Regions from separate parts of the Homo sapiens genome. Here regions 1 and 2 are each linked to region 3. The links are contacts of gene promoters, found by promoter capture Hi-C in human tissues and cell types (Jung and others, 2019). All regions are on one chromosome and are shown on one strand. Each heading gives the region's core, a stretch centred on a gene start or on the middle of the fragment in contact. The rest is flanking DNA. Distances are from core to core; before and after follow the strand shown. Region 1 holds the start of NTHL1 (nth like DNA glycosylase 1). Region 2 holds the start of PRSS27 (serine protease 27). Region 3 holds the start of CCNF (cyclin F).

Region 1 (3,000 bases), core at 103-2,602, 380 kb before region 3:
TAATACACTTGGGGTGCTCTGCCCTCTGCAGTCTGGGGTATGTGGGCCCTCCTTATGCCAGCGACCCTGACAAGGTCCATGTTAGCTCATGAGGACTCTAGCAACAGCCTGTACCAAGGTGCCCCCAATACATCTTCTATACTGCACCAGAGACAGTCTGCTAACACCCACATCAGGTTGTGTCACTCCCTTTTAAAAAATCCTGGCCGGCCGGGCGCGGTGGATCAAGCCTGTAATCCCAGCACTTTGGGAGGCCGAGGTGGGTGGATCACTTGAGGTCAGGAGTTCAAGACCAGCCTGGCCAATATGGCAAAACCCCATCTCTACTAAAAATACAAAAGTTAGCCGGGTGTGGTGGCAGGGGCCTATAGTCTCAGCTACTTGGGAGGCTGAGGCAGGAGAACTGCTTGAACCTGGGGGGCGGAGGTTGCAGTGAGCTGAGATCACAACACTCCACTACAGCCTGGGTGACAGAGCAAGACCCGATCTCAAAACAAACAACAAAACCTCCTAATTGACTTCCGTTTACTGTCATAATAAACTCCAAACTCTATCCTGGCATCAAAGCTCCTGCCACCCTGGCTGGCATCACCACCTGCCTGCTCCCAGCTGCACCAGTTCCTCCTGACATAGTCTGGACTACCCCTGGGGTCCCTGGGTGCCTATGGGAATCCAGCTCTGGCCAATTCTGCAGAAGTCCCAGCGGGACTAGCGCAGAGGCCCTGTCCGTGTCCCTCACTGCTCACTGCAGTGCTTGGCCCCCAGCAGGTCCTCAACGGCTGCAGGATAAATATAATAAGTGCCATGCCCTTTCCTGTTTTCCCTCAGAGGCACCCTCCCCCGAGCTGGGGGAGCAGGCTTCTGGCTGCGTGTGTCCTTGGCACCCAGCCTCTCCGAGGACAGCAAGTTCACTGCAGGAGGGCGGGGATGGGACCCACAGAGCCTGGAGTGGAGAGTCCCGGACAGAGTGGTGGGAAAGGAAGCGTTTTCTTGCTTGGGGCGAAAGGGGGCAGCGGAGCGGAGCGCCCGAAACCCAGCCCCTGCGGACCGCAATCTTTGGGAAAAAGGCGCAAGGTGGGAACGCAGGGCCGCACGTGGGAACCGTTCGCGGCTGCCGGGTTTGCAGCCCCTGCCCGCGCAGCTGGGAGCCGCAGGAGGCGGCCCGGGACTCCAGCCTGCAGCCCCTATCCCGCCTCCTCCCACGCTCCAGCCACGGCGCGGCGCTACCTGCTGCAGCCTCTCTTCTCCGGAGAGGCCCGGGCTCCTCCCTACACCCCCGCGGCCCAGCCCCGGGTCCCAGGCTCCGGCTCCGGGTCAGCATCCTCGCGCTCAAGGCGGTCATGCCGGACTCCTGCGGACTACACATCCCGGCGGCCCATGCGGCCCCGTCACGTGATGCAAGGATCGCCGGCCTTTCCGCCAGAGGGCGGCACAGAACTACAACTCCCAGCAAGCTCCCAAGGCGGCCCTCCGCGCAATGCCGCTACCGGAAGTGCGGGTCGCGCTTCCGGCGGCGTCCCGGGGCCAGGGGGGTGCGCCTTTCTCCGCGTCGGGGCGGCCCGGAGCGCGGTGGCGCGGCGCGGGGTAAGTGGCGGTCCCCACGGGGCAAGTGGCGGTCCCCACGGGGCAGCGGCCTAGAGAGGCGGACCCCGCAGTGTCCGGGTCCCGGGCCCTCACCCGCGCCCACTGCAACCCGACTCCGGAGCTCCGAGCATCCCTTAGTTTTAAGTCATGGCGGGTGCGAACGGGTCTCTGCTGCAGGCGGCTCCGTGACAGCTCCTGCTTCACATGGGTAGAGGAGAGACGGCAAACGTCGGGGCTCCCAGGACTTCGCGGCGGCAGTCCTAACCCGTGCACTGAGTCGGGCGGGGCGGGCGGCAGCGTCTGAGTAGAGAGCTCTCTAGACCAGGCCTGGTGTCTCCCGGGCTTTCCTAGGTGCCTGTTTGCGAGCTGGTCAGCTGGGCTGTAGTTGAGTTCTCCCAGGGAGTGTGGGAGGAAAGGTTATGCCCACCAGAGACCCAGGGTCCTGACGGCTGGAGGTCCGCAGTGGGGAAGGTGGGCAGAGGTGTTGCTCAGATGTCCCCATTCCTGTTTCGTTTGCACAGAGGGGTTTTCTGGTGCGTCCTGGTCCACCATGGCCAAACCAACAAGCAAAGATTCAGGCTTGAAGGAGAAGTTTAAGATTCTGTTGGGACTGGGAACACCGAGGCCAAATCCCAGGTCTGCAGAGGGTAAACAGACGGAGTTTATCATCACCGCGGAAATACTGAGAGTGAGTGAGCTACCTGTGTCTTTGCTAGGCTAGAGGGAAATGCAGAGAAGGCTGGGTTTGGTCTTGCACCAGGTTCTGTGGGAGACGGGTTGCTGGCAACTGTCTACACAGGAATGCTGTCTCCAGTACTTGGAGGCCGACATGTCCTTCCTCAGGAGACTTCGAAAGTCAGGATCTTGGTGACCTGGTTCAGGCACACTTGAGTTACTATTCAGATGTTGATGAAAGAAAGCCCATCTTATAGATGAGGCCTGAGTATCATCATCTTCACAGGTAAGGATATGTCCAGGTGTTACATGATAAGATGTGAGTTCCTGGGAGAAGTAGGTTCTTTATTTTATTTTTTTTTTGAGACTGAGTCTTGCTCTGTTGCCTAGGCTGGAGTGCAGTGGCACAATCTCTGCTCGCTGCTACCTCTGCCTCCCAGTTTCAAGTGGTTCTCCTGCCTCAGCCTCCTGAGTAGCTGGGACTACAGACACGTGCCACCACACCCATTTAATTTTTGTATTTTTAGTAGAGATGGAGTTTCACTATCTTGGCCAGGCTGGTCTTGAACTGCTGACCTCAGGTGATCTGCCCGCTTTGGCCTCCCAAAGTGCTGGGATTACAGGCATGAGCCATCGCACATGGGCTAGGTCGTTATCTTTTATGTGTGTTTGTGTCTTTGTCACACATGCCTGGCATTGTGTTTTGCCCATGAGTAAATGCTGAATTTTTGCACTTGTAAA
Region 2 (2,700 bases), core at 85-2,584, 290 kb after region 3:
GGGGGATGTGGACAGCTGAGCCCTTCAGGGTGGGCGCCCTGTGGGGGCTGGAAGCAACAGCCAGGGGTGCCGGGGGTGTCAGGAGCATTGTTTGGGGCCTGGGCCTGTGATTCGCTGGTAGCTGGTGGGGATGGTGAAGCTTAGTGGGTACCACCAGCCAGAGACCTGGTGGGAGTGCCACCCTCGGGCTGGGAGTGAGGACGTGTCCAGGAGTCCAGCCTCTGGTCACAGCTGTTAGTGAACCGACTGCAAAACTCATTGCCAAAGAGTTTTGGCAATGACCTTGGTTCCTCACCCCGCTCAGGGGCAGTCACAGCCTTCCACCTCCTGTGCACATGGCTTGCTCAGAGGGCACCATCCTTGTGCTGGGAGACTGGGGGCATGGGGTGGGGGAGGCCGGGCCACTGAGGGGCCACTGGTGCCCTCCCACCCAGGAGAACAAGGAAGCCTGGAGTACTGGCTAAGCTGCAGCCTGGGATGACCTGACCCAGCCCTGGGAGGTGACTTGAGGACAGGGAAGTGTGGTGGCTGCCAGACTGGCTAGGCTAGCCCAGGAATGTGAGAGGTTTTCCCTGACAGAGAGTGTCCCGGCCCGCAGGGAGGGGCCTGGCAGGTGGGGCCCCCTGGCTGGCACCTGCTGTCCCTGACCCAGGACTGGGAGAGGGCACGGTGGCGCATCACCGGTTCCTCTGTCAGCAGGAGACAGGGCCCTCTGCCACCTACACCCCCTGCCCCCAGCTCTCTACTGAGCCTGCAGCCAGCCTGCTGGGGCTTCCGGGCACAGGCAGCAGCCCTCGGCTCGGCCACCCTCCCACCCCGAGTATGATGGTCCAGGCACTTGGAGCCTGAGTTCACATCCTGCACGTAGGAGGCCCCTGTCCTCACCTAGAGAATGGGGGGAGAGGCCGAGGTGGCAGGAAGCAGGGAGCCTGGCCAGAGCTGGCACACCAGTGCCCGCGGAGAGGCATGGGAGGAGGTGCTGCCCAGTTATGCCGGTGGGGTCCTCTGGGGCCTGTGCGCACACCTCCCACCCTGCCTCCCCACTTTGGACTCCCCACTTGGCACATCTGGAGCCTTCCCACCTGCTCAGGGGCAGGAGGGATGATGGCCTGTCCCACAGCCCCAGCCTGTCCCAGGGAGTAGGGGGCTGAGCCGGAGCCCCAGGCAGTGCAGCGGAGCCTGGTGGGGGACTGCACCACCAGGACCCTGCACCTTCACGACTCACCAAAACACAGCAGCAGCAGGAGCGGCACCGCCGCCGGCCGCCTCATGTCCTCAGGCCTGGCTGGGGCGCAGGGCCGTGGTCGGCGGTGGCAGAAGCGTTGGAGCACGAGCGAGGTGCAGGCTCCATGAAGTGGAGTTTTATGCTGGAGATGAGCACAGGCCCGGCTATGCGGCCCAACCCGTCGGCCCGGCCTGCCCAGCTCCTCTCCTCAGGAAGGAAGCGCCCAGAGCCGACTCCTCCGTGACCTAGCCCTGAACCCCGAGACCCCAGGGCAGACCCCTCACCCCAGCGCAGCACGGGGTGCCGTTGGCCTCGGTTCCTGGACCCTGAGCTGACCCAGACCCCCCAGCAGACCCCGAGCTGACCGCGGTGCACGCGAAGTCCGTCCAGCTTCATTCATTATTATTATTATTATTTTTTTTAATTTTTTGAGACAGAGTCTCGCTCTGTCGCCCAGGCTGGAGCGCAATCTCGGCTCACTGCAAGCTCCGTCTCCCAGGTTCAAGCCATTCTCCTGCCTCAGCCTCCTGAGTAGCTGGGATTACAGGCAGGTGCCACCACGCCCGGCTAATTTTTTGTATTTTTAGTAGAGACGGGGTTTAACCGTGTTGGCCAGGCTAGTCTCGATCTCCTGACCTCGTGATCCGCCCTCCTCGGCCTCCCAAAGCGCTGGGATTACAGGGGTGAGCCACCGCGCCCGGCCTCATTCAGTATTTTATTGAGCGCCGATGGAACACAGTGGGGCTGGGCCGCGCTGGTGGGAAAGTCAAGGCCAGGGGTGTTTGCGGGGCCGAGGGCAGGGGAGGCGATGGGACATGGGGCGGGGTCCGGAGTTGGCCGCAGCGACCCTCCTCCCGGGACAGCAGGCCCCAGAAGTTCCTCAGGCGCGCGCCAGCGCGGCCCAGGCGGCCGACCCGGGCCCCGGCTGCCATCCCTTGGAAGGGGCGGGGGCTTCCTGGCACCAGGCGGGGCGGAAGCGGCTCCGGGAAGGCCGGGCCGGGGTTACCGTTTCGGTGTCCCCGCCTGGCTCTGGGCGCGGCGCCGCGGCGGAAGAGGCTCGGGGAGGAAGTTATTTGGGGCACGGCGCTGACGTCAGAGACAGAGTGGGGCCGGGCCGTGGGGTCGGGGGCGCCGGACCTGTTTCCCCGCCGGCGCCGGGGGTCGGTACTCGCGGGCGGGGCGGGGCCGGGCGGCTCCGGGCGGGGCTGGGGGTGCGGCCGTTCCCGCCTCAGCCTTGTCCGCGCGCGTCGTGGTGCTGCCCTCTGGTGGGCGCGGGGCGCGGCGCGGGCGGCCAGGGGTGCAGAAGGGGCGCTCCCAGCCTCATGGTCCGGGCTCCGGCTCCCCGCATCGCCCTCCCTAGCCCCGCCCTCCCGCGTCTCCGCCTCCGCCTCCACCGCCTCCTCCCACCCTTCCCTCCCCGTCCAGTCCCTGGAGTTCCCGGGTCGGGGGTGGGAGGCGGGCTGGGCAGCCCCTGG
Region 3 (3,101 bases), core at 525-3,024:
GGAAACGGGCCCACACCCTGGAGGAGCCACTTATCACCCCAGGGCAGCCCTGGAGGCTCCCACTGCCAGTGCAGGGTGTGGGGCGAGAGCAGGCATGGCTGCAGTCAAGACAACTCCTGCTCCCTGAAAAAGAAATTTGCCTGTCCATGTTGAAAGGAGAGTGATCAGGACACAAAGCACAGGATAGAGCTAAACAACAACCTAGGGACCAAGGATGCTGTTCTAGATTCTAGAGGCAGCTGGTGTGGCTAATGTGCTCATGGCTGGCTCTAGTTGATTAATCCCTTCAAGATGCTATGGAAGCTAACCCTGAAAGTGCACCTCTGCCCTAGGGGGAGACAGGTAACAGTGACAAAGTAGGAAACAGTAACCCAGGAGGACAAAAGTGAGATAAGGGGATAATAAATCTGGGGGCTGAGAACATGGGACATCTGGGGAGCAGGCCCCAAACTCGCTCAGCCTGTCCTCTCTTCACCCTCCTTCACCCGCTTCCTGATTCCGGGACAGGGAATATTCCCAACTTCCAGACCCTCTCTGGGGCCACGGACTCTTCTGTACCCTGTGCTGTGATCACCTGTTTACTCTGTCTCTTGCCCCAGGCCGGCTGAAGCCTGCACGCCAGGGCTCCTGTCTGTGTGCCCAGGGCAGGCCCAGTACTTGAAGGAGTTCTATGGGGACCCGGAAGGATGGAAGGGTGCAGACTGAGGGAAGCGTGAGGGAGGGGTGGGCAGCCTTGGCCCAGGCCCCTGCCTTCCCCAGGAAAAGCCCCCTCTGTCCTCCACCAGACAGTCAGGAGGCTGCGAGTCTTCCCCTTGACAGCCTGTGCCGTAAAAGGGGTGCGGTGTGGCTGACTCCTGAAGGACAGCTCAGATGGGCACTGCCCAAGACAAGAGTGAGCAGATACGACACTTCCCGCGGCGAGCAGCTCCAGGTAGCAGCCGAGGAGGCCAGACAGGGGGCAGCATCTGGCCAAAGTGATGGGGAGGGCTTGCCCCGGGGCTGGAGCACTGAGGCGTCCAGGGTGCGCCACGTTTCGCGGGAAGAAGGGGTCAGCGTTCCGCGGGGGAGACTTCCCAGCGTCAGCTCCGACCTCCTCTTTCTCTACCACGATCCCGGCCAGCATCCCCGCCCAGCAGCGGCTCAGCCACAAACCCAAGGGTCTCCACCTGAAGCAGGCGGCGGAAGGGAAGGCCGTGCAAGCTGGGGGTGAGGGTCGCGGGCCCAGGAGCGACCCCGGGACCCGGGCAGGGCACGGCCTCGTCTTAGAAGCGCCACGTCGAGGCTGTCCCAGGCTGGATCACGGCCGCGACTGCGAGGGACGCCAAGGAGTCCTCTTTCCCCTGGCCGCAGGCGTGCGCCTTCGCAGCCCATCTGGCACCGCAGATGCCGGTCGCCGGGGTCAGCGGCGAAGCCCGAACCCATGCGGCCGGGAGGGGACGCCCACAAACCCCTGCCCGCCGGCCGGGAAGCGCTCCTACGGGACCCCAGCCCCGTTGGGGAGGCGGGGCGGCCACGCGGGTTCCACCAATCAGCGGCCAATGTTCGAATTCGCGTCCTGGCGCGGCCAATGGCGGGTCCCGGAGCAGGCGGGGAGGGCGTGGAGGGCGGTAAATGAGGCGAGCACAGGGCGGGACATGGGCGGGGCCGGCGGCGGCCCCCCCGGGCAGGCCAATGGGAGGGCCGGGTGCGTTTGAAAACTGGGGTGGGCGGCGGGGCGGGGTCTGCGCCTGCGCGAGGGCTACGCGCGCTCCGGCCGGGGCGCGGGCGCGCTCTCAGGCGGGCTCCGGCGGCAGCGACGCGAGCGCGGCGATGGGGAGCGGCGGCGGTGAGTGCGGGGCGATGTCCGCTGGTTTCTGCCCCACACCCCTTCTGCCTGCCCTGCGGGGCGGACGGTGGGTCCCGCGGGAGGGGAGGCCCTGGCGGCCTGAAGAGGGCTGGCTCGAGCTCTTTAACCCGGGGCGGATGTCGCGTCCCGCGCAGGGAGCCCCGGCGGCCGGGCGCGCGGTTTAAATGCCCGGCGGGCGCCCGAGCCCCTCGGAGCCTTCCCCCGCGGCGACGTTTTCCGGCCCTTTCCTGGGGCAACGATCGGGTCCCGGGGCAGCGATCCGGCGATCGGGTCCCGGGGCGGCGATCGGGTCTCGGGGAGCCAAACACCAGCGCCTCCTGGTCGGGGAAAGGGCTGCGGAGCGCGTGGGGGCGAAGCGATCCCGCAGCCCGGCCGGGCCCTGACCGAGCCTCAGTCCAGCGGGGCCGTGGACCTAGCTCTGTGGAAAGCAGCGTTCGGCCCCGCGCGCGTTGAGGCACAGGAAACACGAACTGTGGTTTCAGCTATTATCATAGTATCTGTCCTGGAGCCGGAGAATGAGGAATATTTTATGGAGAGGTCTATAGAATCTTTGAGAATTCGTCGCCCTGGAATACGTTTGGCTTTTGCAGCTGATTTAATTGCTAACAGGAAGACCCCGGTCAAGAGAGGGGAGCCGGGAGCAATCGCTAGGAAGTCCTAGCAAGGCGGGGAGGGATTTGGGCCCACAGAGGGGAGTGGCGCTTCCTTTCAGGACTGGAAGGAAGGATGGATAGAAAGGTAGATTTGTAGATGGGGAGGCAGGATCCTGAGGTTCCTGTCTGAGGGCTTCTGTTTCCCTGTGAAATAAGGGCTAAGGTCATCTGCTTAGAGTGAGGAAGGGGTTGCTGGAGTAGGAGTTGGAAAATCCGGCTGTGGGAAGAGGAGAGAGCACATCTGAGAAGCATGTCCGGGCTGCCTGCCTGGTGGGTGGAATGCCCGTCTCACCTTTAATGATTGCATCTGTACACAAACCTACAGGTCTAGGTTTGTGTTGGGACCTGAGCAACAACCTTACTGCGTAGCTGTCAACTCCGCATTCTACAATAGAGGGCACACTGAGACTCTGCAGAGCTGAGACTTGGACGCACACTGCCCCGGCCTCCAAGTCTGTGGCTTCTCTCCAGGGCCGACCCTTCTAATTTGGACTTGAAAACCAGACTCTTCAAGCCCACAGATCTTTATTGAACATTATGCACCTTGGTCACGTGTGCAAAAAGCAAAGCTATCCAGCAAAGGCCCCAGGAGTTTTCCTGAG

Evidence for each region. The method cuts DNA at HindIII sites, captures the fragments that hold promoters and counts their contacts. A contact is called where the count stands out against the background at its distance.
Region 1: a contact is called between the fragment with the promoter of NTHL1 here and the fragment with the promoter of CCNF in region 3, in 2 of the 25 tissues and cell types used here (lymphoblastoid cells and stomach).
Region 2: the fragment with the promoter of PRSS27 here is called in contact with the fragment with the promoter of CCNF in region 3 in 1 of the 25 tissues and cell types used here (pancreas).

What each region holds. Positions count from the first base shown.
Region 1 is chr16:2,046,482-2,049,481 of GRCh38, forward strand. It overlaps NTHL1 (nth like DNA glycosylase 1), which reads right to left and starts at 1,353. Exons shown (of 6, transcript NM_002528.7): 1 at 1,228-1,353. The coding sequence starts at 1,342. TSC2 (TSC complex subunit 2) reads left to right here and starts at 1,504. Exons shown (of 42, transcript NM_000548.5): 1 at 1,504-1,584; 2 at 2,106-2,272. The coding sequence starts at 2,135. RefSeq lists enhancers at 757-1,256, 848-907, 1,358-1,447 and a silencer at 1,538-1,767. The HindIII fragment of the contact is 27,107 bases long and covers 1-3,000 here.
Region 2 is chr16:2,718,890-2,721,589 of GRCh38, forward strand. PRSS27 (serine protease 27) reads right to left here and starts at 1,335. Exons shown (of 6, transcript NM_031948.5): 1 at 1,226-1,335. The coding sequence starts at 1,271. RefSeq lists an enhancer at 1,605-2,172 and a silencer at 1,906-2,665. The HindIII fragment of the contact is 19,281 bases long and covers 1-2,700 here.
Region 3 is chr16:2,427,673-2,430,773 of GRCh38, forward strand. It overlaps CCNF (cyclin F), which reads left to right and starts at 1,775. Exons shown (of 17, transcript NM_001761.3): 1 at 1,775-1,825. The coding sequence starts at 1,810. RefSeq lists enhancers at 836-1,415, 851-1,030 and silencers at 1,241-2,090, 2,101-2,150. The HindIII fragment of the contact is 14,340 bases long and covers 1-3,101 here.